4 separate regions of the Homo sapiens genome follow, and regions 1, 2 and 3 are each linked to region 4. Evidence: promoter capture Hi-C in 16 types of primary human blood cells and fetal thymus (Javierre and others, 2016). All regions are on one chromosome and are shown on one strand. The core of a region is centred on a gene start or on the middle of the fragment in contact, and the rest is flanking DNA. Distances in the headings are between cores, read along the strand shown.

The links. The method cuts DNA at HindIII sites, captures the fragments that hold promoters and counts their contacts. A CHiCAGO score of 5 or more calls a contact.
Region 1: a fragment that was not itself captured here is called in contact with the fragment with the promoter of IMPA1 in region 4 in 1 of 17 cell types (total CD4 T cells); the score reaches 5.8 in total CD4 T cells.
Region 2: a fragment that was not itself captured here is called in contact with the fragment with the promoter of IMPA1 in region 4 in 1 of 17 cell types (naive CD8 T cells); the score reaches 5.2 in naive CD8 T cells.
Region 3: a contact is called between a fragment that was not itself captured here and the fragment with the promoter of IMPA1 in region 4, in 1 of 17 cell types (total CD4 T cells). The highest score is 5.2, in total CD4 T cells.

Annotation. Positions count from the first base shown.
Region 1 is chr8:79,754,989-79,762,314 of GRCh38, reverse strand. No RefSeq gene overlaps it. Among named protein-coding and RNA genes, the nearest start is that of HEY1, 9.1 kb to the left of the region's middle. The HindIII fragment of the contact is 714 bases long and covers 4,581-5,294 here.
Region 2 is chr8:80,502,860-80,509,860 of GRCh38, reverse strand. All of the region lies in intron 2 of ZBTB10 (zinc finger and BTB domain containing 10), which reads right to left. Among named protein-coding and RNA genes, the nearest start is that of ZBTB10, 20 kb to the right of the region's middle. RefSeq lists an enhancer at 6,144-6,644. The HindIII fragment of the contact is 766 bases long and covers 4,669-5,434 here.
Region 3 is chr8:80,014,956-80,022,375 of GRCh38, reverse strand. All of the region lies in intron 5 of TPD52-MRPS28 (TPD52-MRPS28 readthrough), which reads left to right. All of the region lies in intron 1 of MRPS28 (mitochondrial ribosomal protein S28), which reads left to right. Among named protein-coding and RNA genes, the nearest start is that of MRPS28, 12 kb to the left of the region's middle. RefSeq lists a silencer at 5,328-5,622. The HindIII fragment of the contact is 1,067 bases long and covers 5,019-6,085 here.
Region 4 is chr8:81,681,438-81,689,124 of GRCh38, reverse strand. IMPA1 (inositol monophosphatase 1) reads left to right here and starts at 2,800. Exons shown (of 9, transcript NM_005536.4): 1 at 2,800-2,873; 2 at 7,541-7,627. The coding sequence starts at 7,565. RefSeq lists an enhancer at 2,554-3,054. The HindIII fragment of the contact is 6,947 bases long and covers 1-6,802 here.

The sequences.
Region 1 (7,326 bases), core at 3,688-6,187, 1.9 Mb after region 4:
AATAATTACTCATTTATTTTCATTTAATGTATTACCATGAATCAATATGATGAAGTAGATAGATGGGCAGAATTCTTGTATTTAAAAAAGCCTCTAAAAATCCAAGGAATAATTGTTTCCAATTTATTCAGTCTAGTTAAATGAGGATGTGATTTTTATCCAGGTTTTCATTGCCCCACTCTGTGACTCACTAAAATCATGATATTTTAAATATAGATTACTTAAATTTGAAATCCCTCAGGAAATGTTTTATCTCCTAGTTATACTTTTCCCCAGCCTTTCCCATCTATACCAGTATCACAGCTTTGATGCCTTCATTAGTTTCTGGTGATGATTTATAATTAAAATCACTTCAGAGCTAATATCATCTGAAACACTGCTTCAAATGTGGCCCAATTTCATTTACAACTGGAGTCCCAGGGAATAAGAGCATCTTGGAAAGATTTTTGGCTCCTGCTTTTACCTAATTGGGTGACACTGGATAAGTCATTATGATTCTCTGAACCCCACTTTCCTCATCTGTCAAAGTGGCTGGACTGGGTGAGGGTTCCAGGTGCATGTGACGGGGACAGGCACTACTGGGGAGGAATGCAGTGGTATCAGGTGAGTGATGACCCAGGGAGGACGTCATATTTTCCCAGCACCCATTCTGTCTCCGGGTCTGGCTGAGGAGTCGCCGATTGTTCCTATGCAGAAATTTTAGTCCAGTGTTAGCAGATCTTTCAAGTTTCCAAAGGCATCTCCAAATTTGGATTTTTTATGTGAAATTGTCCAATTTTTATTGGTTAGTCACTAATTCACCAAAACCTGTCTTCCAGCAAGACTGAGCCATGGGCAACAACTATTTCTCAGCTTCCAGGGCTCTAATCTGAATGGCTCTCTGGAGGGCTAGAATTTTCTAATATCTTTGTCATCCGTGCTTTGAATACGCTACAATAAATGGGTAAACATAAGCTAAAATAAAATCAACACTGCAGTCTTTAGGCAGCTGTAGGTGATATTATGTAAAGATTACGTGCAGAGTTTTTTAAAAAATTACTTCTGGGCTGTCCAATTTCCTCAAGGTAAAATAAAGCAAGGAGAGAGGTTTCTGCTTCACAGAAACCTCTTCCAAAGGTGTTCTCAACTGGGTCCTTGCATTCCCTTTACCATGGAGGAAGACGAGTTCTCAGCCTGGCAGCCTGAAATGAAAGAGCGAGTGTGTAGCTCGCTTGTGACTCAGCACGCTGAAGTACTAAAAGGCATCATCTGATTTCAGGAAGTAAGACGTCTCAGCAAAAAGCAAGCTGTTTTGAACTTCAACTTGAAATATAATGCCTGCCTTGATCTTGATGAGCTGCAGGGTTTTTCTCTCAGATCCTTCAGTGTTCTGCTCTGGGGCGGGGGGTGGGGAGAGGCGAGAAGAAAGCCAAGGAAAAAGAAATCCAGGCCTTTCTTTTTGAGCTGTCTGTAGGTATTGATAGGCACTTGTCACAGAACTGTTCCCCCAAGCCTGTAAATCCCAGCAAAATTCAAGGTAAACAAATGTCCCTAAGAGATGAGTCTGAGGAACACAGACAGGTATCTGGATTTTGCGTTAATCCACTGCCACATTAGGCTTCTTTATAGTTTGGTTGTAAAATTTCCCATTGAATTTACTCCTATGTTGGTATTTTTTGTTACAGTCAAGTTAAAAGACCATGCCTAAATTTGAAAACTCTTAATCATAGATGGTTGGTAGGTTATCTATGGCTTGATGTAGCAGAAGAGACTTGAAAACGTTATATTTTAGCCAGAAAGAGACTGCCGTTTACCTCTGATAGAGTTGATACCCAAACAGTTTCTGTAGCTACTTTTAGTATTTTTTTTTTTTAAATGCCTCCCCTGGGCATGGTTTTGTTTCTGGTGCTTAGGGGTGTTCCATAAATGCAGCACTGAATCATAAAATTAAAGAATGACATATCTGAGGCTTTGATCATCCTCTTTGACCTCATTTCCTACCACTCGCCCCTCCTCACTGCTCCAGCCACACTTGCTGTCTGCTCTTGTGGGAACGTGCTCTACATGTTTGCATCTCCAGGCCTTTGTGTTGGCCGTTCCCTCTGCCTGGAATGCTTTTCCCCCAACGGTCTGCTGACCTATCTGTAATCTCTACTTGCGGCTCTGCTCAAAGGTCACCTTCCCCACCAGGTCTTTCCTTGCAACTCTATTTAAAACAATCATCCCACTCTCAGTCTCTCATCCCCACATCTGCCTCTCCCTACCTCCCTTTCTTCTTTTGTTTATCTCCACCGTACCCAGAATTATCTGACAGAATAGATACTTCATTGACTGTTTATTATCTGTTTTTGCCTGGTTTGTTCACTTCTACAGTTCTGTCACTTAAAATTGCCTAGCACATTAGAGGCTCTCAGTAAGTATTTGTTGAATGAGTGAATGAATCCTATCCACCCCCTTGGTCTCCACTAAGAAGCAGAGCAACCGGGCAGGGTGGCTCATGCCTGTAATCCCAGCACTTTGGGAGGCAGATGCGGGCGGATCACCTGAGGCCTGGAGTTTGAGACCAGCCTGACCAACATGGAGAAACCCATCTCTACTAAAAAAAAACAAAAAACCAAACAAACAAACAAACAAAAATAGCCAGGTGTGGTAGCACATGCCTATAATCACAGCTACTTGGGAGGTTGACTGGAGAATTGCTTGAGCCCAGCAGGTGGAGGTTGTGGTGAGCCGAGATTGCGCCATTGAACTCCAGCCTGAGCAAAACTGTCAAAAAAAAAAAAAAAAAAAAAAAAAAAAGCAGAGCAAAAGAGAGCCAGACAGGCAGGTCTTTATCCTCCAGCCCCCACCTTCACTACTCCCAGGGAAGATAATTTTATGTTTCACTTCAGTACTTCCTCTTCACTATTATAAAATTCTGCTTTTATTTATTTTATTTATTTTTATTTTTATAGAGAGACAGGGTCTTGGTATGCAAACTTCTGGACTCAAGCGATCCTCCCACCTTGGCTTCCTAAAGTTTTGGGATTACAGGTGTGAGCCACTGCGTCCAGCCAAAATTCTGCTTTAAAAAAAAACCAAACTCAAACATCATTCTTCAAGTCTATTTCCTTATTTATTTATTTCCTTATTTATTCCCACTTCTGTGTGCCTAGTGGGAATGTAGGGATATTGGTCACCTTTCTTTTCTTTTTTTTTTTTTGGAGGTGGAGTCTCGCTCTCCACCTCCCAGGTTCAAACAATTCTCCTGCCTCAGCCTTCTGAGTAGCTGGGACTACAGGCACCTGCCACCACGCCCGGCTAATTTTTGTATTTTTAGTAGAGACGATGTTTCACTGTGTTGCCCAGAGTGGTCTCGAACCCCTGAGCTCAGGCAATCCACCCACCTCAGCCTCCCAAAGTGCTAGAATTACAGGCATGAGCCACTGCATCCAACCACCTTTCTTATATTCCCCACAAAAGCCCCCACTCTCCTCTGAAGACATAGGCTTTCAATTTATCTTCACTTCCACCTTCTCTCCAATTAGGGTGTCTCAGTGTTTTTGATCTTCCCCCATTTTAGTACAACCTTTGGGATGGGGATGGGGGAGCACAGCAACTGTATTTTTATTTATTTTATTTTATTTTTTGAGACAGTTGCTCTGTTGCCCAGGCTGGAGTGCAATGGCACGATCTCAGCTCACTGCAACTTCCACCTCCCAGGTTCAAGCAATTCTCCCACTCCAGCCTCCTGAGTAGCTGGGATTACAGGCATATGCCACCACGCTCAGCTAATTTTTGTATTTTTAGTAGAGACAGGGTTACGTCATGTTGGCCAGGCTGGTCTTGAACTCCTGACCTCAGATGATCCACCCACCTCAGCCTCTCAAGGTGCTGGGATTACAGGCATGAGCCATTGCGCCCAGCCAAGTGTATTTATAAAAATGGAGAGAAGAACAGAAGTTCTATTATGAGAACAGAGTACATACCACTTAGGGTTTATAGGACAGCAACACAGATGAAGCGTTTAGACTAAACCTGAAGAAGTTAAAGAAACTAAGATATAGTCTGTGATAAGTTGGAGGCTGAAGGGCGACTAGGAAATTATTCGTTTCCATATATAAAGACACGGTCTTATGAAAACAGAGGCCAGAGGTTCTCAGGTGGAGACCCACATCCTCGCACAGGGCAGAGACCCGTGGGGTTGAGATGGGAAGGGGCCTGCAATTCTCACCATGGTTCTGGCCATTAAGCAGCCATGGGTTTGTAACAGGATTTTGAGTACAGCTTTTTCTGTTGTCCGGTAATAAGCTGAGTGCACAGAAGTGGTAAGTACCTCATATTCTAAGGAACGCAAATCAACTTGGGACCCAATATTTCTGACAGGATTTTTTAATAGGAGCCTAAACTATCCTTTCCATGTTCAGCAGTAGCCCCCATAGCTGAACCTCATCCCAGCTCACCTAAGAAGATGGGGAAAGGGATGAGAAAGGAGATCATGGACATGATGAGGAGTGGCCTAGCTTCTCCCCTCCCTGTAGGGAGTAGGTGAGTTGAAAGTTTATGAGGGATTGCAGTGGCTGCATGAGATTCCAGGATTTATAGAAAGTGGGTTTGAAGCTTGAGCTGCTGTCAGAGCTGAAGGGAAACAGCTGCCTCCTTCTCTTCGCAGGGTGTGGTTCTTGGAAACGCAGGGGATTAGGATGAAACTGAACATCTCCCCTAAAATACCACGCACATCACCCACTTGGAAAGCATCACATCAGCAGAAGCCTCCGGCAGCAGATGGAAAACAGAGCCAAAGTGAGAACGCAGGTTCCTGGCAGCCTCCCCCAACTTATGTGGGAAGATGTTTCCCTCCCTCTTTTCTCTTCTCCCGTCCTCAATGCTAGCGTAGTTAACGTTGGGAAGGGAAGGCATGGAGGAATACTAGACTCAGAACTGGCCTAGAACATGAATCCCCACCCAGACCCTCCGAGGTGCTGGAGGAGGAAGAAGAGCTGAAGGGTAGACAATATCCCTTCCCGCTCTCCCTGACCCCCAAGTCCTCCTCCCACATTTTAGCTGATGACAGGATGGGGAAAGTTTTAAATGAGAAAGGAGATTGACATGTTGAAATAGACTGAATTTTTGTTTATGGAAAATGACAAGGAAATTCTTTGGTCTGCCCAAGACATGATTAAGAGAAAGCAAAGGGATATTTGTCAGAATATGGTTGAAAGCAGTTATTGTAAAAATAAAACAACCCTCAAAAGACCCACTATTTCTTATTCCTCACTCAGTGGAGAAGTGCATGTTTAGTCCAAGAAATGACACCCAAGCAAATGGAAGAAGCTTGTGCAGAGGATTGTCATATCCGCCTTGATAATTTTGGGGAATAGTGAAACATGGAAGAGATAATGGACGAATGAATTTTTGAAAGAGAAGGTGGATTTTTTATGCTATTAACCAATGAGTTTATGTTAATACAGGGCAACGTTTTAAGAGGAATTATTAACATGGTCACCTGGAGCATGTATTAAAAAAAAAAGTGATGCCCAGGCATGGTGGCTCACGCCTGTAATCCCTACACTTTGGGAGACCAAAGTGGCAGGATCGCTTGAGCTCAGGAGTTTCAGATTAGCCTGGGCAACATGGTGAGACCCTGTCTCTACCACCCCCCCACCAAAACAAAACAAAACAAAAAACAGTAGCTGGACATGGTGGCATGCACCCGTAGTCCCAGTTACTGGAGAGGCTGAAACAGGAGGATCCCTTGAGCCCAAGGGTTCAAGGCTGCAGTGAGCTATGACCACGCCACTGTACTCCAGCCTGGGTGACAGAGCAAAACCCTATCTCAAAAACAAACAAATAAATAAACAAATAATAAATAAAAGTGATGAAAACCAGCAGCTAACAAGAGTTCACAAAGAATAAGCCATGCCTTACGAACTTCCATTCCTTTGGAAAAGGCTTACTGTGCTGGGCTATGGGAGGATACTGCAGAATAGTGTATCTGCACTGCTGTGAGGCATTTGACTAAGTGTTTTACCATTTCCTGGAACAGTACTAGAAATGTGAGCTGCATGATGGGACAGTTAGAAGGCTCAGGAATTAGTTAAATGACAATAATTCTTCATTTAGTGTTTGTATCACGCCCCGCATTGTGCTGGGGGCTTTTCACACATTATCTGTAATCTTTAAGAATGGTTACTCTGAAAGGTCAGTGTTATCATTTCTGTTTACAGATGAATAAACTGAGATTATGCAAGATGATGACAGTCATCCAAAATCTTCCAACAGTTATGAAGCAAAGCTAGAATTTATTGGCAAATAAAAAGTCCACACTTTAAAAAACTTAACACTCAAATTTAACTTATCAGTTGATTGATTTTTCACTTGGCAAGAGTCTCCTGTGATATTTTCTAATGATTACAGTAGGCTGAAAGTGAAACAAACTTCTTGGGGAGAAGATGAGTTCCCTGAGATACAGGATATTGAAGCAGAGTTTGGTCCACCCTGAATGTTGTGAATGGGCTTCACTAGAGGTTCTAACCAAGGCTTTCCAAGGGTGATGGATACATGGATACAGATGTTTTAAAGGCATCAATCTCTAGATGTTGAATTACCACATGTATGCAGTTCTTGACTTGCCAGTTCAGCCTCCCCACTGCTATGCTCACAGGCAGCCTTTCCCCTTAATTATAAAAGCCATACCCTTCACCCATCCCAAATCTGCAGACTCAGAAACTTATAGGATGCCAGACAAAGGGACAATTCTAAAACTTGGTTGCAGGAAAATCTTCCTTAATGATCATTGAGAAACTTTAATCTCACCATTGGCTTCCTGTTTATGCCCGTTTTACACATATTTTTGTTATGGATGAAACATGGATTAGAAAACAAAGTATTCAAATGTTCTAAATTTAGAAATTTTGAAGAGAAGCATGGTGGGAATGATAGCAATGATCATTTAATAACCTTGCCTCTTCTATTTTCAAAACGTTGTCCAAGACTGTATCTTTCTCTAGAGTCAGTAAGAACAAAGCAAACACAGCCTCAGTCAGAAATGTGAATGCCAGAGGGGAACAACACACACTGGGGTCTGTTGGGTGTGGCACTGGGGGAGGAAGAGCATTAGGAAAAATAGATGATGCATGCAGGGCTTAATACCTAGGTGATGGGTTGATAGGTGCAGCAAACCACCATGGCACACGTTTACCTATGTAACAAACCTGCACATCCTGCACAAGTACCCCAGAACTTAAACTTAAAATAAAAAAAAAAAAGAATCATGAATGCTTAAATGACTTCTTTTCTCCTTTCATGTAGGTAAACTGAAGCAATTCTTTTCAGTTAATCTCAACACTCATTCTTTAGGTCTTCTAG
Region 2 (7,001 bases), core at 3,802-6,301, 1.2 Mb after region 4:
CAGCAAGCTATGATCATGCCACTGCACTCCCTCCATGGGTGAAAGACCAAGACCCTATCTCCTAAAAAAAAATGAAAATATTACCATAGATTTTTGAAAATCTGGTAACAGTGGAAAAAGAATGAGATGGGATTAAAAGACTGGTCTAAATCTCAGTCTCTACCTCCCAAAAATGTGCCCATGACCAATGATATTAGTAAATGAAAATATTGAGCAAAGTACAAGACAAAACAAGGTATCATTAAAGACAAGACTAATCTTGGTGCCTTGGTCATGACAGGAATTTTAGATCACGGTGGGCTAGCAACCCTTCCAAATCACGTGCGAAGTGAGTAGTACAGCACCTGCCTGTGAATGCTAAATTAAACAAGACTGAGTTGGAAAGGTTTCCCTGACTATTTGCTTGTGGTTCTCAATATTCCAACCATTAGGCAAGTGCAGACTAATCCAGATTTTCTCAGAACACAAATATTCTTGAAAAGATATGAGACAAGACCCTGGGAAAGAAGTTTTAAGAAACAGCTAAACAAGTTGTATAAAAACTCAGACTCAGATCTACTCAACTTTCATTTTCATATAAACACATATTAGCACAAGTTTCTCTTACGGTGACAGTTTCAGAACTAAAAGTAAATGTGTTTGGTGCTTTTCCCCCCCATAAACAGGTATAGATTTTTTCTCTTCAGTTTTCTCCTTTCAGTGGAGAGTAAATTCAGTTGCAAATGTATTATATAAACCACCCTTTACAGTTCCTGTAGCAGCCTTTTAAACTCAAAATAGCTTCCCTTTCACTCGCAAACTCATTGACAAGTGACTGCCCCATCTTACTTAGACTAGGCTCAACTGTTTCTTCCTTGCATTATTCCAAAGTGCTGTTATTTCTCCCTAACAGGTCCCCCCAGTACATGCCCCACCTCCAATCCATGAAAAATGCTCTTAAACTTTTTAGTCTTAAATGCAATATAAACAGATCAAATCTCTAGTTAAAAAAACCACTCACTACTTCAGAGTCTGTAAAACAAGTCAGAATTTATTACAATACAAAAATAACTAGTTATACCTATAGACAAGGTAGTAGGAAATTGGAGATGTCCCCACAACACTACCCCTTTTCTATTCTTCGACCCACTTATTCCAATTTCTTCCCATCTTGCAAGTCAACGAATGCTCTTCTTCCCCTCCTAGCAAACTCCTACATAACAAAAGATCCACTCACACTGCCTTCTCTATGAAGCTTTCCCAACTCCTCTGGGCAGTTAGGACTGTTCCACTGCACCCCGTCATGCATCTTAAATAATCTAATTTTAACATTTATCACATGGCACTGAGTATGTTTCTACCCCACAGTCACCCTATTGTGAATAAGTTCCGCATAAGGGACTCCTCAATCTTGACATTATGTGGCCTATTGCTCAGTGTCTTTAGATTTTAAATAAAAACGTTTCCAAATTTCCTATTATATGTGGAAAGCTATTTTGGAGTTCCCAGAAAGTTATAACATTTCTGAAGAGTAAAGCTTTGAATGAAAATTTACACTATCTGGTCACCCTACTATATATTAAGTCTGTATCAGAAACCAAAAATTCAGTTCTATAAAAAACTTTCAGGGACTGGCATTTATATGGTTTAGACAACTTAACACCTTCAGCAGGAAGAAGTCACAAAAATGCCTTAACTGACCCACATAAGACTTCTTCAGCTCTTCAGCTTTATTCTGACCACTTAAAGAGTTTCTAACTTACAGGTAATAATCAACAGTGTAGCCACTTCTTGGGTCAAGTATGATACAGGGAAGGAAAGCAACAGTAAGCACAGCAAAAGGGGAAACAGTGGCAGACTACTATTTCACCTACCATATGGTTGCCTACTACCATCTTTTAAAATTAAATACTGAAGATTCTTATGCATTAGTATATCATATAACTCATTAACTATTATTTATTTTTAAAAATAAGCATCAGGGCTGGGTACAGTGGCTCATGCCTGCAACCCCAGCACTCTGGGAGGCTGAGGCAGGAGGAGAGTTGAGCCCAAGAGCTGGACACCAGTGTGGGCAACATAACGAGACCCTGTCTCTATTTTAAAAATCTAAAAAAAATTAGCCAAGAGTGGTGGCCCATGCCTGTAGGTGTGCCCAGGTACTCAGGAGGCTGAGGCAGGAGGATCACTTGAGCCCAGGGATTTGAGGCTGCAGTGAGCTATGATCACTGCACTCCAGCCTGGGTGACAGAGGGAGATTTTTTTTTTGAGATGGAGTCTGGCTCTGTGCCCCAGGCTGGAGTGCAGTGGCGCGATCTCAGCTCACTGCAACCTCTGCTCCCGGGTTCAAGCCATTCTCCTGCCTCAGCCCCCCAAGTAGCTGGGACTACATGTGCCCGCCACCATGCCTGGCTAATTTTTTTTTGTATTTTTAGTAGAGACGGGGTTTCACTGTGTTAGCCAGGATGGTCTCGATCTCCTGACCTTGTGAACCACCCGCCTCGGCCTCCCAAAGTGCTGGGATTACAGGCGTGAGCCACCGTGCCCAGCTGTTTTTTTTTTCTTTTCTTCTTTTGAGACTGAGTCTCGCTCTGTCACCCAGCTGGAGTGCAGTGGCATGGTCTTGGCTCACTGCAACCTCTGCCTCCCGGGTTAAAGTGATTCTCCTGCCTCAGCCTCCCGAGTAGCTGGGATTACAGGCGCGCGCCACCACACCCAGCTAATTTTTGTATTTTTAGTAGAGATGGGGTTTCACCATGTTGGCCAGGATGATCTCGATCTCTTGCCCTCGTGATCCACCTGCCTCGGCCTCCCAAAGTGCTGGGATTACAGGCGCGAGCCACTGCACCCGGCCTCAGAGGGAGATCTTGTCTCTTAATAAAATAAAATAAATAAATACATAAGTAAGCATCTGGCCTTCAGCACCCTCCCCCTAATTATTAGAACCCCCCCAAGTTGCTAATGAAAAATGAAATTAAATTCTGACTTGCATCTCATCCTTCATAGCATACTCCATAGGATGCCTAAGAGGTTTAGCAAAACACTCGGAATCTCCTAAGAGAATAAAAACTAATTCAGATCCATAAATCTGTTACGTGAGACCCTTGGGGTAAGATTTAGAATGCAGAATTTTTCAGATTTTATAGCTATGACTGTAACACCCCATGTGGGGTCTGGAGTAGCACCCTATAATGAAAACATGAATATTTATACAAAACACTAATATTTATACAATAAAACATGAATATTTGCAGGGCGTGCTGGCTCACGCCTGCAATCCCAGCGCTTTGGGAGGCTGAGGCGGGGGTTGGGGGGGGGGTGGATCACCTGAGGTCAGGAGTTCAAGACCAGCCTCACCAACATGAAAAAAACCCGTCTCGTCTCTACTAAAAATACAAAATTGGCCAGACATGGTGGCACATGCCTGTAATCCCAGCTACTCGGGAGGCTGAGGCAGGAGAATTGCTTGAGCCCTGGAGGTGAGGTTGCAGTGAGCCAAGATCACGCCACTGCACTCCAGCCTGGGCAACAAGAGTGAAACTCTATCTCAAAAAAAGAAAAAAGAAAAAAAGAAAAAAAACCCATGAATATTCACATTTAAGGAAGTAAAAAAATATAAATAGCTGATTTGTTGCCAAAATGATTAAGAAAAAGCTTTGGGTCCTCAGAACTATTAAGATTTCAGAATTTTAAGGTAGAAATTTTACTTCTTTCCCATTAGGGAGGCTGTCTGGGATACACTCAAGGCTAGCATTGTGGCAAAACTGAATCTAAAGCCCAAGTCTCCTTCACCAAAGCCATGTCCCATGGTTTTGAAACATATTTTAGACTGGACACAGTGGCTCAAGGCTGTAATCCCAGCACTTTGGGAAGTGAGGCTGGAGGATCCCTTGAGCCTGAGACCAGTCTCCTTGGCAACAAAGCGAGACTTCACCTTTACTTAAAAAAAAAAAAAAAAAAAAAAAATTAGCCAGGCATAGTGGTGCACGCCCACCTGTAGTTCCAAGTACTCTGTGTGGCTGATTGCGGGAGAGTGAGGCGGGAGAATCACATGAGCCCAGGAGGTTGAGGTTTCTGTAAGCCATGATCATGACACTGCACTCCGCCTGGGTGACAGAGCAAGACTCTGCCTCAAATATATGCCTTATTACGATTTCTTATATCTATCTAGTTTGGATATTCTTTTCTCAAAATAGTTTTCAAAGTACCAAATTGTATGCTTTTTTACCAAAAAAGCAATTACACAAATAAGTGCAAAGCTTAAACCTGATTTCAACTCTACTTGTAAGGATTAACGCAAACCTAAAAATGCTGCAAAACTATTTTTCCATCATAAGTCTAGGTGAAAGAAACTTCCAGGTTATTTAAAAGAATTCTAAACTTTATCTTTTAATCAACTAAAATTACCTTACATTTGAGTATTCGTATGGCATAAGGAAAAAAAATCATTTACATAGAACTACATCAGCTTGTGGCAAAGATTAAAAATATAATAATCGACTGCTGCATTTACTAGAAAACATCTAAGGAAACTGTCCATTATATTACTTGGTGTCAACTACATAAAAAAATCCCACTGGAGAAATTCCTTTCAGAAGTCAGTACCAGGAAGTTTGTCATCCTGGTAGAACTGGTATGTTTTTCTCTTTTGAGTAAGGCTGTTTTGTATCTTAGAGCCAATTAAAAGCTTAATTAGGGCAACCACATTTATATCCATGATGAGCACTCTTAACTTCTTTGCCAATTTTACTTTATTTTGCTAATTTGTTTCTTTTGTCATTTCAAAATAAGGTATGTATGCATGCAACGTACATACAGAGTAAAATTATTTATAATAGGTAGAAGTTGCTAGTATGACAGGTATAAATTTAAAAATCTAGGCTCAGAAAACCATGTTCCATGAGCCCGCAAAATAAAGTGATTTTAAAAAATCAGATTAACACCTGACTTGTTCTAGTTAAACGGGACACAACATGTGTGAATACACGTTGTAAAACAAATTTAGGCACTAGTTATCTGTACTTCTGTAATTCAATTTCTAATCTCAGGTTATCTACTTTATTTGGCTAAAATTTAATGTTTCCTGGTTGCAAATCAGCAAGACAAGGATTTTGAAATTTTTACATTATCAGAGCAATTCACTCACGACATCATTTTTACCCTTATTTGATTACCCAGATTTTAGTTTTTGCTGACAGTTTTAATTATTCCATAATCCCAGTATGTGCATATTCTCTTAGGACAGAAATTTCTAACTTTTCTGAGTTCTACCTTCAAAGTATTCTTGTGTAAAAGAAATGATCTGAAGTGAAGTCAAACAACAAATATGACTCTGTAGTGAGTCAAACAACAAATATGTTAATTTCAAGATAAAAAAATACCATCTGAATAAAAACCCTGCAGCTATGGGTACACCTTCTTATCTCAATCTTTAAAAGGCACCCAAACAAAAGCTTCAACATTATACAAGACAGCGTTATTAGAACTGTATCTTACAAACTCTGTGCTGAAGACCTGAGGGAAGACACAGTAACTAGAAGAGACCCCCGCCAAATCCAAACATGCCAAGCATTGTTTGCAGATTGAACAATTCACTAAGACTTTTCAGATGTTTGCTATAGAACTTCAAATTTATTTAAAAGCATTTATTTCATGGACAACTGTTTTCTCAATAAATGGAAATTAAAGCATAACTAATGATGAAGGGGATCATAAAAATATTTTAAAGTTAAAAGGAACTAATTTTTTAAAAAAGATAGGAATCTACTACTTTAGTAGTTAATTTCAAGGTTTTCATGCAGCATAGTCCTAAATATGCAACCTGCCTCTTTCTACTCTTACTAGCTGAATGACCTTGGGAAGGCCTTAACGTTGGTAAACACAGGCTATGTTCTATATTGGTCAGAACTTGCCTGGAAAGAGTAAATTGTGTGTATTCATCACAAGATGGGCAGAAGAGCACATAGCCTACAAAAACAGGACTCTTTAAACGTCTAACATTTGAAGGGTTATCAGGTAGATTAGAGGAATTAGGTTAGGTTTAAATTATACTATTCCAGGCAGAGCGCAGTGGCTCACGCCTGTATTCCCAGCACTTTGGGAGGCCAAAGTGGGCAGATCACTTGTGGTCAGGAGTTTTTGAGACCAGCCTGGCCAACATATAGTGAAACCCTCTACTAAAAATACAAAATACAAAAATTAGCTGGGTGCAGTGGTGCACGCCAGTAGTCCCAGCTACCTGGGAAGCTGAGGCAGGAGAACGCTTGAATCTGGGAGGCGGAGGTTTCAGTGAGCCAAAATCATGCAACTGCACTCCAGCCTTGGTGACACAGGGAGACTCTGTCTCTCAAAAAACATAAATAAATAAATAAATAAATAAATAATAAATTACACTATTCCCAACGACAGAATTAGGAAGTTATAGAGAAGCAAATTTTGGCTACATTTAAAATGACTACCTAATAATCAGTCATCCTACACTGGAAGCTGCTTAGGGAAGTCTTTACAAGCAGTCAAAAAATCAAGCTGAGGCTAAGACCATCTATCTGGCATTTGGTAGAAAGTACACAGCACCGGAAAACTGATATGAATAACCTCAATAGTCTTTTCCAAGTTTAAGGAGGATTGCCATGACCAAGAGTTATTTCATATTTGTCACTTCATTTTCATAATAATTCTATAAAATCAACACAATATTTTAATGAGGAAACTGAGGACAAGAGCTTAATTTGATCATGGACTACAGGGGGTAGGTGGCACAGCTTATTTTTAAATTTTAAATTCATTATGTTTGACTCAATTTAGGCTCTTTCCAATATAGTAATATTTGCTGATCTCAGCCTTAACTCATAAAATTACCTGTAGAACTTTAAAAAAAATTCCACATCCAAACCACATTCCATACCAATTAAATTGGAATCCACAGAAGAGAGACCCTTTACGGCATGTAATGCTCCCAAGTGATACCAACGTGCATACCCATGATTAAGAACCACTGCTATATACGAAGGGTTGGCAAGTTT
Region 3 (7,420 bases), core at 4,303-6,802, 1.7 Mb after region 4:
CAAAAACTGAAAGCAGCCTAGATGTCCTTCAGCTGTTGAATGGTTAAACAAACTGTGGTACATCCTTACCGTGGAATACTACTTAGCAGTAAAAAGTAATGAGTGTTTGATACACAAAATAATTTGAATGACTCAAAGGAATTATGCTGAGTGAAAAAAAAAAAGCCAGTCCCAAAAAGTTACATATGGTGTGATTTCATTTATACAACATTTTTGAAATGGCAGAATTATAGAGATGGAGAACAGGTCAGTGCTTACTAGGAGTTAGGAAGGAGGGAGGTAAAAGGGATATGTGGAGTTACAAAAGGACAGCACAAGGAATCCTTGTGGTAATGGACTTGTTCTGCATTTTGACTGTGATGGCCAGTACAGAACCTTTACATGTAATAAAATTGCATTGATGATTACGTGTATAACTGGTGAAATCTGAATATTGGTGGATTGTGTCAATGTCAATTTCCTAGTTGTGATATCATACTATAGTCTTCTAAAATGTTACCATTGGGAGCCCTGGGTAAGGGTGCAGGGGCTCTCTATGTATTCTTGGTTACAATTGCATGTGAATCTACAATGATTTTTAAATAGAAAGTTAATTTTTTTTAAAGGGAGCATTTCACTGGTCTCTCGGGCCCAGCACTGATAAGACCATTGAATTCCATAAACATGTGACAGTTATCCCACATTATTTCCTGTAAGGTAATTTTTTGTTGTTAGAAGCAATGCAGTGTAGAATACCAGAAAAATCCAAGAATAGTTAGAAGTAAAGTTCCACATGCCTACCTGCATACCTTAGCCTTTAGTCAGACAACTTCTGTCTTACTAGAAACCTTAAAAGCATCCCTTGGTCCCAGTCTATGCATCTGTCAGCATCTGGCTTACAGCTCTGCTCATAAAATGAGAGAGAGACTGACTGTCCAGTCTCCTTTTGTAACTGTTTTTCCCTATCTAGCATAATGTTTCTCCTGCTCCCACGATATACCACTATTACAGAGATTTCTAAACTTTTTTGATCATGTCCCTTCATTAATAAATTTTTGAGCAGATGTTCCAGTATTTACTTAAAAAATACATTTGTGGCTGGGCGCAGTGGCTCACACCTGTAATCCCAGCGCTTTGGGAGACCAAGGTGGGCGGAACATGAGGTCAAGAGATCAAGACCATCCTGACCAACATGGTGAAACCCTGTCTTTACTAAAAATACAAAAATTAGCCGGGCATGGTGGCTCATGCCTGTAGTCCCAGCTACTCGGGAGGCTAAGGCGGGAGAATTGCTTGAACATGGGAGGCGGAGGTTGCAGTGAGTCGAGATTGTGCCACTGCACTCCAGCCTAGCGCCAGAAAGAGACCCAGTCTCAAAAAAAAAAAAAAAGTGTGTGTGTGCGAATATATATATTCGTACTGTAGTTTCTTTTGTTATATACATTTTAAAGCATTTACACATAAAAACATTTTGAAGGTGAAGTTAAAAAAAACAAATAGAAATTCCAGTGTTTTCTTCTTCTGTCCTATGGGTTATGATAGAGATCACTATTCTTTGTTACAACCTGACCTTTTTCCTTCAGGCCTGCTCTGTAAATGTGTGTTCGTTGGCCACAAATTTCCTATGTCTTTTTACGAACAATCTCCCCTTTAACCTTCTCTACAAGTATTTCTTGCTTGCTTTCTTGGTTTCCCTTGATAACACTGCTTCCCTTCTGGTCTTCCCTAGTATAGATTGCAACGGGTCTCAAGGCTAGGAGGAAAAAATGACTCATCTTCGTTCTCGTTTCTCAGTACCATTTCAGACTACTGTTCTATCAGAAATACTTTAAAAAGGCTCCTTGATAAAAATCTTTTCAATTCTTTCCATTTTTCGTCAGCATCTGGCTCACAGCTTTTCTCTTTTCTTCATACTTACCATTTTCATTGACCAGCATTTACATTTGTAAACCAAAAATAAAATTCTAAAGCCCCCTCAACCATCTGAATGGACCCCTCCTGTCAGCCAAGGGCGTTCCAAAGTTAACCTGAAAAACTAGTGCAGGCCGTGATGGGAAGGGGGAGCCAGACGTGCCTCATTATACCTCCCTCCTTTCAGAATTAGTGATAGAAATGACTCTTTAAGTCTAGTAAGAAACATTTACAATCTGTTTTCTCTGAAGCCTGCTACCTGGACGCTTCATCTGCATGATAAAACCATACTCTCCACAATGCCTTATGGTCACGCAGACATTCCTTTCTATTGATAATAACCCTTTCAACCAATTGCCAATCAGAAAATCTTTAAATCTACCTATGACCTGGAAGCCACCCTCGCAACCTGCTTCTAGTTCTCCTGCCTTTCTGGACTGAACCAGTGTAACCAATGTACATCTTACACGTATTGATTGATGTCTCATGTCTCCCTAAATTGTATAAAACCAAGCTGTACCCTGACTTCCTTGGGCACGTGTCTCAGGACCTCCTTAGGCTGTGTCATGGGCGTGTCCTTAACCTTGGCAAAATAAACTTTCCAAATTGATTTAGACCTGTCTCATACTCTTGGTTTACACATTAATGACTACCAATACTTTGGCCACATAGTTTTTTGTATATTAACCTTATATTGTGTAATGTTGCTGTAATTACTTATTCCAGGAGGTTTTTTTCTTGTTGATTCTTTTTGATTTTCTACATAGGTCATCATGCCATCCATGATCATACACAGTTTTATTTCTTCCTTCCCAATCTGTATACTTTTATTTTTTCTTTTTGTCTTATTGCATTAGCTAGGACTTCTAGTACAATGTTGAAAAGCAGTGATGAGAGGGGACATCCTTGCCTTCTTCCTGTGCTTAGTAGGAAAAGTTTCAAGTTACTTACCATTACATATGTAGGTTTTTTGTAGATATTCTTTAGGAAGTTGAAGCTTTCTCTAGTTTTCTGAGAGTTACTATTATGAATGGGTATTGGGTTTTGTCAAATGCTTTTCCATTTGACGAAATGAAATACGACCATGTGATTTTTCTTCTTTAGCCAATTGATGTGATGGATTACATTTTTTTTCTATTTTTAATTTTTGTGGGTACATAGTAGGTGTATATGCTTAGGGGGCACACGAGATACTTTGATACAGGCATATAACATGTAATAATCACATCATAGTAAATAGAGTATCCATTCCTTCAAGCATTTACTCTTTGTGTTAACAATCAAATTAAACTCTTTTAGTTATTTTTAAATATACAGTTAAATAATTATTGCTTATCACCCTGTTGTGCTCTCAAACACTAGGTCTTACTCATTCTTTCTAACTACTCTTTGTACCCATTAACCATCCCCACCCCCTTATATACTATAAGTATACTATATCACATATAGGGGAGTGGGGATGGTTAATAGGTACAAACCCCCAATACCCTTCCCAGCGTCTGGGTAACCATCCTTCTACTCTGTCTCCATGAGTTCAATTGTTTAAATTTTTAACTCCCACAGATAATAACATGTAAAGTTTGTCTTTCTGTGCCTGGCTTATTTCACGTAACGTAATGACCTCTGGTTCTATCCATGTTGTTGCAAGTGACAGGATCTCATTCTTTTTTATGACTGAATAGTAGTACTGCATTGTGTATATGTACCACATTTTCTTTATCCATTCATCTGTTGATGGGCACTTAGGTTGCTTTCAAATTTTGGCTATTGTGAACAGAGCTACAGCAAACATGGGAAATGTCTCTTCAGTATACTGATTTCCTTTCTTTGGGGTATAAAACCAGCAGTGGGATTGCTGGATCATATGGTGGCTCTATTTTTAGTTTTGGTTATTTGTTTTTTGTGGAACTTCAAACTGTTTTTCAGAGTGGTTGTACTAATTTATGTTCCCGCTAACAGTATATGATGGTTCCCTTTTCTCCACATCCTCATCAGCATGTATTACTGCTGGTCTTTTGGATAAAAGCCATTTTAACTGGGGTGAGATGATATCTCATTGTAGGTTTGATTTGCATTTCTCTGATGATAATGATGTTGAGCACTTTTTCATAAGCCTGTTTGCCATTTGTATGTCTTCTTTCGAGAAAGGTCCATTCAGATTATTTGCCTTTTTTTTTTTTTTTTTTTTTTGAGACAGAGTATTGCTCTGTCTCCCAGGCTGGATTGCAGTGGCACGATCTCGGCTCACTGCGAGCTCTGCCTCCTTCCGGGTTCATGCCATTCTCCCGCCTCAGCCTCCCCAGTAGCTGGGACTACAGGCGCCTGCCACCATGCCCTGCTAGTTTTGTTTTTGTATTGTTAGTAGAGATGGGGTTTCACCATGTTAACCAGGATAGTCTTGATATCCTGACCTTGTGATCCGCCCGCCTCGGCCTCCCAAAGTGCAGGGATTATAGGCGTGAGATTATTTGCCTATTTTAAAGTTGGATTATTAGAATTTTTTTCCTATAGAGTTGTTTGAACTCCTTATATATCCTGGTTATTAATGCTTTGTCTACATTTTGATTTTTGAATGTTAAACCTGTCGTAAGTCTCAGTTGTGGTATATAATTTTTATATGTTGTTGGATTTGATTTGCTAATATTCTGTTGAGGATTTTTGCATCTACATGCATGAGAAATATTGGTCTGTAGTTTTCTTTTCTTGTAATGTCTTTGTGTGGTTTTGATATTAAGATATTACTGTCCTCATAGGATAAGTTCCACTCCTATCTTCTGAAAGAGATTGTAGAGAATTGGTTTGATTTCTTCTTTAAATGTTTGGTAGAACTCACCAGTGAACCCATATGGACCTGGGGCTTTCTGTTTTGGAAGTATATTAATTACTGATTTAATGTCTTTAATAGACATAGGCCTATTCAGATTATCTGTTCTTCTTACTTGAATTTTGGCAGACTTTGTCTTTCAAGGAATTAATCCATTTAATTTAGGTTATCAAATCTGTGGGTATAGAGTTGTTTATAGTATTTCTTTAATGTTCATGGGATATGTAGTGATGTCCTCTCTTTCATTTCTATTATTAGTAATTTGTGTCCTCTCTTTTTGTTTTTCTTAGTCTGGCTAGAAGCTTACCTCAAATAACCAACTTTTGCTTTCGTTGATTCTATTGATTTCCTGTTTTCAGTTTCATTGCTTTCTGTGCTAATTTTTATTTTAGATAAGTTGTGTTTTCATTTTCATTTAGTTCAAAGTATTTTTAAATTTCTCTTGAGATTTGTTTGACTCATGTTATTTAGACGTGTATTTGTTTACTCTAAGAATTTTGGGATTTTTGAGCTATCTTTCTATTCCTGATTTCTAGTTAAATTCTAGTGTGGTCTGAAAGCAGACATTGCATGATTTCTATTCCTTTAAATTTGTTAAGGTGTGTTTTATGGTCCAGAATGTGGTCTGTTTTGGTGACTGTTTCATGTGGCATGAGAAGAATATATATTCTGCTGTTGCTGGATGAAATTGTCTACAGATGTCCATCATATCCAGTTGATTTATGATGTTGTTGAGTTCAGCTATATCCTGAGTGATTTTCTCCCTGCTGGATCTGTCCTTTTCTGATAGAGGGACATTAAAGTCTCCAACTGTAATGATTCATCTATTTTTCCTTGCAGTTTTGTCAGTTTTTGCCTCATGGTTTTTGACTATTTTTAGGCATGTACACATTAAGGATTATTCCGACTTCTTCAGATAATTAACCCTTTTATTATTAGCAAATTGTTTAACATGAACAAACTGTTAATTGTTAGATCAATTACTAATTAAAAACTTAAAAGTTTTAATTTTACCTTCACATATTCCTTCTCTGTGTTCTGCCTTTCTTTATGTAATGTAGATCTGAGTTTTTGACTTTTATAATTTTCTTCTTTCTAAAGAATTTCTTTAAACATTTCTTGCAAGGCAGGTCTACTTGCAACAAATTCCCTCAATTTTTATTTGTCTGAGAAAGTCTTTAATTCTCCTTCATTTTTGAAGGATAACTTGTCAGGGTACAGAATTCTAGGTTAGTATTTTTTTTTTTTGTTTCCTCTTAACACTTTAGATATCTCACTCCACTGTTTTCTTGATTGCATGATTTATGAGGAGAAGCTGGATATAATTTTTATCTTTTCTCCTCTGTAGGAAAGCTGTTTTCCCCCCAAGCTTCTTTTAGAATTTTTTCTTCATCTTTGATTTTTCTGTAGTTTGAAAATGATACTATATGCCTAGATGTAGTGTTTTTGGTGTTTATTCTGGTTGATGTCCTCTGAGCTTCCTGGATCTGTGGTTTGGTGTCTGATATTAATTTGAAGGAAAGTCTTAGTCATTATTGTTTCAAATATTTCTGCTGTATTTGTCTTTCTTCTCCTTCTAGAATTCCCATTAGTTTACACCTTTTGTAGTTGTCCCAAAGTTCTTGAATATTCTGTTCAATTTTTCCCTCAATCTTTTTTCTCTTTGCTTTTCAGTTTTGGCAGTTTTTATTGAGGTATCTTCAGAGTCACAGTTTTTTTTTTTCCTCAGCTGTGTCATCTACCTGTAAGCCCATCAAAGGCATTCTTCATTTCTGTTACAGGGCTTTCGATCTCTAGCATTTCTTTTTGATTCTTATTTAAAATTTCCATCTTTCTGCGTACATTGCTTATCTGTTCTTACATCTTATTTCTTCCGTTAGAGCCCTTAGTGTCTTAATCATAGTTGTATTAGATGCCTGGACTGATAATTTCAGTATCCTTGCTGTGTCTGAATCTGGTTCTGATCCTTGCTCTGTCTCTTCAAACTGTGTTTTTTGCTTTTTTGTCTATCTTGTAATTTCTTTTTGATAGCTGGGCATGATGTATTGGGTAAAAGGAATGGCTGTCAATCGGCCTTTAGTAATGTGGTGATAGGGTGTGTGGGGAGGGAAAGTGTTCTATAGTCTTATGAGTGGGTCTCAGTCTTCTAGTGAGCCTGTGCCTCTGGACTATGAACTGCACATTTGCTTCTCAGTGTTTCCCTCTCTTTTGGTAGGACAGAATGACTAGTGCCAGCTAGAATTGGTTATTTCCCTTCCTCCAGGACACTTAGGCTCTGACAAGTGTTTAGGCTTTGGTTGAAGAGTTTCCTTGAGGACACATGTCATATGCATGATAGTTTTATATATGTGCTTAATGTATATTAAAAAGACAACACCTGTTTGATAAATGAATTGTTGAATAAGAGAGAGTGCTCTGATGTATTTCAAAATAGTTCTATTCCCCACAGAACTTGCCGTCTGAAGTACAAGGGGATTTTTCTCCTATATTCACTGTAAGGACCAGGTTGAGCTCCTGGAGTTAAAACTCACAAAAGTGTGAGAGTCCCCAATAACTGAGTCTCTCTGGAGTTTTTAACTTTCAGACTTGTCCCACTGAGCATCCACCAATTCACCAGTTACAGCTCGGGTTTCCCTACCTCGGCACTGGTTCCCACAGAGGTTTCTTCTTGGAGGCTTCTTTTCAGTAGTTCTCTGCATTCACTTG
Region 4 (7,687 bases), core at 1,551-4,050:
TTGGAAATATTAGTTGGTTACGAATGAGCACTTGTCAGCATGCGGTTGGCAATATTTTTATTTTAAGAAGATTGGCAATGAAGAACCGAAAAACTAGCCTCAGAAGCCTTTTTTTTTTTTCTAAGAAAATAAAGTATCATTTGATAGACATCCAAACCGGATACCTAAGGCATCACTCTTTTTGGATTAAAGATGTTTATTGGTCCTTGTGAGGTGTGAGAATTGAGTCCAGTCCAAATTACTCATCTCTAAGACATTTCATTTGAAATATATTGGTGACATTTTGTCTTTTGATTAAACAAACAGAAACAGTAACTTCCTAAGCAAAGAGCCAAATAACTAACTTACTTTCCTGGTCCAGTTGTAGCTAGGACATCTTATATCTGTGCAATGCTTTTTGCACTATGATGGTGTATGTACCACGATGTCGCTCTTTCTTTCTTTCTTTCTTTCTTTCTTTTTTGAGATGGAGTTTCACTTTTGTTACCCAGGCTGGAGTGCAATGGCGCTATCTCGGCTCACTTCAACCTCCACCTCCGGGGTTCAAACGATTCTCCTGCCTCAGCCTCCCTCGTAGCTGGGATTACAGGCACCCACCACCATGCCTGGCTAATTTTTGTATTTTTAGTAGAGACAGAGTTTCACCATGTTGACCAGGCTGGTCTTGAACTTCTGACCTCAGGTGATCTGCCTGCCTTGGCCTCCCAAAGTGATGGGATTACAGGCATGAGCCACTGCACCTGGCCAACTCTTTCAAGAAGAAGAAACATTTTAAGACCATAACTAGTCCTTGTACCTCATATAATGTGATCTCATTGTGCCATATATTCTCAGTGTGTAAACTTTTGTAGGGCCAAAGAAAAAACTTCCCTTTTGTCCTCTGAAGGTTTGGTGAAAATCAACTGACAAAAGGCAGATAAATAGAAGAAAAGGATTTTATTTGATCATAGTTTTATGTGACTTGGGAGCCTTCAGAATGAAGACCCAAAGGTATAAGGGGACAGTCCATTTTATGCTTAGTTTCAACAGCATATGGACAGCTGTGTAGAATATGGTTGGACAAAGAGGGTATAACCTAATGCTATTAGACTGGGGAAATCCAGTAAGACCTGTCTGCTTAGATTCTTCTTGGCCTCTCTCCATAGGACCCTCTTTGGAATGGGGGTCTTATGACCTAAACTCAGACAGGGTGAGTCATATAATTTCTTCGTGGTCAGATTTTACATAGAAACACAGGGAGAATGCTAGAGTAATATCTATCTATCTATCTATCTATCTATCTATCTATCTATCTATCTATCTATCTATATCTCTCTCTCTATATATATATATTTTTTTTTTGAGACGGAGGCTCCCTCTGTCGCCCAGGCTGGAGTGCAGTGGCGCGATCTCCACTCACTGGAAGCTCCACCTCCCAGGTTCATGCCATTCTCCTGCCTCAGCCTCCCGAGTAGCTGGGACTGCAGGTGCCAGCCACCACACCCGGCTAATTTTTTTGTGTTTTTAATAGAAACGGGGCTTCACCGTGTTAGCCAGGACGGTCTCGATCTCCTGACCTCGTGATCCGCCTGCCTTGGCCTCCCAAAGTGGTGGGATTACAGGCGTGAGCCACCTTGCCTGGCCTAGAGTAGTATTTTTATGTTTTATGGCTGGCTTTATAAAAAAGGGGTCCTGATTTCTGGGACCTGATTTGGGAAAGAGGAATTCTAGCTTCTATGACTAGTCTGGGGAAGAATGTGGGACCAGAGACAGGAGACCAAAAGGAGTCAGAGGAAAATTTTTCCTTCTAAGGCTGCTTCTGAGGCCTTCATTGTGGGGTATCATTTTCTGAACCCCAAAACTTTGAACTCAGTGTGTTTCACTCTCTGCTCTTGCTGTGTGACCTGAGGACAAATCACTTAACTACTCTGAGCCTCAGTTTCCTCATCTGTCTGACAAAGCTAATCATACCTTTTTCAAGAAACTGTTAAAACTTTAAGGAAAATAATGCATATAAAAACACATTTCGGCCAGGCGTGGTGGCTCATGCCTGTAATCTTTGGGAGGCCGAGGTAGGCGGATCACTTGAGTCCAGGAGTTTGAGACCAGCCTGAGCAACATGGTGAAACCCCGTCTCTACAAGATACAAAAATTAGCCGGGCGTTGTGGCAGGCGTCTGTAATCCCAGCTACTCAGGAGGCTGAGGCATGAGAATCGCTTGAATCCAAGAGGCGGACGTTGCAGTGAGCCGAGATCGCGCCATTGCACTTCAGCCCGGGCGACAAAAGTGAAATTCCGTCTCAAAAAAACAAAACAATAAAACCCCACACAATTGCTTGAAGCATAGTAAGTCCTCAATAAATAGTATGTAAGTAAATTATCAAGAATTGGGCAGTTGGTTCTGGTTATCAGTTTATTTTTTTTTAATCTAGTATAGGTTTACCAGCTTTAGGTTAGCACCTAAAAGCTGCATAATCGGAATCATATCTGCAATCTGGGTTTTGTCAAAATAGTACTATAGAATAAATGGGAGAAAGAAGAAAGCAAGCTAAATGGGAAACCGTGAATGAATGGAGGACGAAAGAAGAAAAAGGCAAAGTAAAGAGAGAAGTAATGTTTAAAAACTGAGAGATGAAAAGACAAGCAGGAGAAAAGAACCAGAAGCTAGAATGAAGAGGCAGTATCCCATGCTCCAGCGCGGGTCAGGACCCGGCCCGGCCTGGCAGAGGCTCGCAGGGCGCAGCTCGGGGCGGGGCCCAGCAAAGCAACCACGCCCCCTCAGGAATGGAGTTTTTAAGGGCGGAACTTCCTGTTGCGAGTAGCCCCTCTACCTCCGGAAGAGACGAGTGCGGTAACACCGTTCACAGAGCTAGCCGGACGTCCTCCGACTCAAGGTGAGACCGTTATTTTCCTCACCGCACCCTCCGGGTTCAGCGGGCGCTGTGGGTTTCCAGGGAGGCCCCTTCCCTCCTCAGGAGCGGGCGCGAGCGCCGTGCGCGGTCGGCGCCTAGGGTGGAGGCAGCCTCTGGGTGACCCCTGCCTGCTGCGTTATCCGGAGCTGCCCTGGGCGACCGGGAACAGTTCCGGCATTGGAGTAGCGGTTCGCTCACGCGACCTCACTTAACCTCTGTGGCGGCTTCTGTGGAATAATTGCCCCTTTTTATGTCCCCAACTCCGAAAAGCTCCTAGAAACTTGGTGCATCCCCAGGCCCAGGTAGTCACTCTAAGTGATGGGGCAGCGCCCAGGTCCTGTGCTGCCCGCAGTCGCGGTGCTGGGACAGGTGGCAAAAAGGAAGGTGGCCTGGCTCCTACGCTGGAAGGCTGTGACCAGGACAGAAACAGCAGGAAACAGTTCAGGTGTTTATGGCTTTGGGAAAATGAAAGTGAGTAAACTACGGACCCTGCCCATCAATAAATGTACTGTGATTTATATATATATAACTATTCATATATTATATATAACTATATATAAAAATATATATAAAATGTACTTATATACTTTATATATAGTACATAAATATACTTATGTATAGTATATATACTTATATATAGTACATAAATATACTTCTGTATACTTATATATAGTACATAAATATACTTACGTATATATACTTATATATAGTACAGAAATATACTTACGTATATATACTTATATATAGTACAGAAATATACTTAGGTATATATACTTATATATAGTACAGAAATATACTTAGGTATACATACTTATATATAGTACCTAAATATACTTAGGTATATATACTTATATATAGTACATAAATATACTTACATATATACTTACATATAGTATATAAATATACTATATGTATAGTACATAAATATACTATGTATAGTATATATACTATATATACTATATATAGTATCTATACTTATGTATAGTATATATAGTATCTAAATATACTTATGTATAGTATATATAGTATCTAAATATACTTATGTATAGTATATATAGTATCTAAATATACTTATGTATAGTATATATACTATATATAGTATCTAAATATACTTAATGTATACTATATATAGTATCTAAATATACTTATTTATAGTATATATATCTAAATATACTTATGTATAGTATATATACTATATATAGTATCTAAATATACTTACGTATAGTATATATAGTATCTAAATATACTTATGTATAGTATATATACTATACATAGTATCTAAATATACTTATGTATAGTATATATACTATACATAGTATCTAAATATACTTATGTATAGTATATATACTATACATAGTATCTAAATATACTTATGTATAGTATATATACTACACATAGATACTATGTATAGTATATATACTCCACATAGTATCTAAATATACTTATGTGTAGTATATATACTCCACATAGTATCTAAATATACTTATGTGTAGTATATATACTCCACATAGTATCTAAATATACTTATGTGTAGTATTTATACTCCACATAGTATCTAAATATACTTATGTGTAGTATATATACTTATGTGTAGTATATATACTTATGTGTAGTATATATATACTAGATATATATATCTAAAGATACTTATGTGTAGTATATATACTACACATTAGTATCTAAAGATACTTATGTGTAGTATATATACTACACATAGTATCTAAAGATACTTATGTGTAGTATACTGTAGTATCTAAAGATACTGTGTGTAGTATACTATATATAGTATCTAAATATACTTATGTATAGTATACTATATATAGTATCTAAATATGTATGGTATATATACTATATATAGTATCTAAATATACTTATGTATGGTATATATACTATATATAGTATCTAAATATACTTATGTATGGTATATATACTATATATAGTATCTAAATATACTTATGTATGGTATACTATATATAGTATCTAAATATACTTATGTATGGTATATATACTATATATAGTATCTAAATATATAGTATATAAAGTATATTTACTGTATTATATATGTGTATGTGTGTGTATGTGTGTGTGTGTGTGTATGTGTGTATGTGTGTGTGTGTGTATATATATATATATATAGTTTGCATCCACCATTCCTGGCTCATAACTCCCATAGCCCTTGACAGGAATCTTGGCCCACCTTTCTGTCTTAGAACTAGCCATGAAGAAATTCTCTGACCTACCTTGTCTGACTGTAGATCGTAAGACCTCCATTTCACAAGGGGTCTTGCCCCATATACAGGAGAAAGGAATGCTGGACAGAGAGGCCAAGATGAATCCGAATGGACAGTCCTTGCTGGGTTTCCACAGTCAGTCTGTTCCATTTGGATCATACTGATTTTGTGGGATCACATTTCTACACAGTTGTCAATCATGCCTATCCAGTGATTATCCAGACTCAGGACCTCAGTTGCTGTCTACTCAAGTAACTTACATGTTTCTACATGGAGGCCATACCTCTCCTGTGAGCTCAGGATCCATGATTCAGCTGCCTAACTGACATCTTTTGATTTTACAGAGGCCTCTCATCTTCCGCTAATTAAACTCCTGATCTCTCAAACTCCTACCTATATCCCAAACTTGACTCTTTTTTTGTTGCTCCCTGTTTCAGTAGACTGTGACGGTTATCCATACAGTTGCCAGAGTGGGAAATCTGGACATCCAGATTCAGAGGAAATCTGAACTCTTCCTGTCCCTGGTACTCTGTAGCCAATCTGTTAGATTCCCTCAAAACAGGTATCTCTGACTCTCTTAACTTCTCTACCAGCAAAACTTCCCTCCCAGGTTTCAGCCAATCATCAGGTATCCTCCCACTACTGCATCCTGAATGTAAATCTGCTGACCCTCTACCAACACCCACTTTCTACCCTTCTGTTGAGTAGCCACAATGAAGTGATTCTTGAAGCCCCTTCAATCAATGTCTTATCCCTAAGGCCCCCCTGTAGAGGATGATCCCCACTACCTCCCCAGCTTTATCTCTCCTGTTTCCCTTAATCTGAGCTGTCACTCTTAGGCTGTTCAGTTAGTCTTCATGTACCAGGCATCCTGCAGTTGATTGAGTTCATGCCTGTTCACTTGTTCTCATCTTGGTTTAATCTTGTCTTCAGGGAAACCTGATCTGATGCCTAAGTCCAGGTGAAAGCTCCCCTGTTAGATGCTTCTCATTGCACTTCTTCTCCTTAACTTATATTATTCCAGTTGTTATTTTGCATGTAGTCTTTAGTTTTTGATTGATATTGAGTCCCCTCCTAGAAAGTGTGAACAGGACCTGATTTTCCTCCCCATGGTGCAGTGTATAGCATACAATAGGTATTCAGTAAACATCTATTGAAGGATGAAGGACATAGTGACTTCTGGGTGGAGAATCCCTAGAAGTAGCTTTTGAAATGGGTCCTGAAGAATTTGTAGAGTTACATTAGTGCTGTTAGAAGGCGGGGGTGTGAGTGGCTTGAGCTGTTTCTGGCAGGAAAGCAGGTACAGCTTGAGAACATCTAGTTCTGTTAAGACTAGTGGAGCAGAATGGGAGTAAGAGTGAAAAAAAAAAGTTTGGAAACAATTCTTGAAGAGCTTGAAGGAGTTGCTTATATGACTCATAGAGTGGCTTCCTTTAAAACAAAATTTTAAAAAATGCTTTAATCAGGAAGAAAAAGCATCAGGAAGAAATTTAGCGTGTGGGTCTTTTGCCCTCCTTTCCACTCCTGTCCTCTTTCCTATAATGTGGGCCCCAAGATAGGAGTTTCTGAATAGTCTTCAAGATGTAACTCTGTGTCTATTATTTTCTATTGGAAAGGAGACAAAATTAGGGTTGTTTTATAAATGGTGCCACAGTTTTTAGTCTGACAGCTTAAAAAGCTTTACTGTGCTAGGTACAGACTTCAGAGTGTGATCAAGCCAGTGGTGAGTTATTTTAGTCTTCAGAAGTCAGTGGAAAACTGGACAGTTTAGAACACAAATATATGTTGGGTTTTTTTTTCCCTCTGTGAAACTCAGGGAAATAAATTTGCTTTTTTCTTATTTTTTTTGGTCCTGGAATTTTCTTTTCTCAGAATGTTATAATAGAAAGAAAAATGGACTTTAAAATCAGAATTGAATTCAAGTTCTGTGTCATTTGTCTGTAATTTTGGGCAAATTATTTCTCATCTCTGAACCTTAAGTTCTTCATCTTTACACATAATTTTTTCAAGTACCTTTTGCTGCTTCCCTTCAAGCTTCTTTTATTTCAGTATTCCCAGTGTTCTTTCTCGTTTTCACTGTATTCTCCTCCAAAATATTATCCTAACTTTTAAAGTATTTCTTGTGTTGTTTCTTATCTATTCTCCAAACGAATGTTTTGGTTTTTTAAAAAAATGTAATATGGTACAGACACACTGGGAAGCAATTTCATAGAATAGTCTTTATGAAAATAATTTGATATAGAAATTAGGTAATTTAGGTGAGAAATGTTTTTTACTGGGTATAGGCATAAATCTTGGGAAAAACTCTAGGGCAGGGGGTGAATCCTGAAATGACAGTCTGTTTCTAATTAAGACGTTTTTGTGAACTAACTATTCTATAATTAAGACTTCTAAGACAGTTATAACTACTTTGTACAGATATTTGTCAAATATTTTCAGAAGATGGCTGATCCTTGGCAGGAATGCATGGATTATGCAGTAACTCTAGCAAGACAAGCTGGAGAGGTATGAGCTAAGATTTTGTCAATTATAATCAATTATAATGTGATTGGTGGGTATACTGTG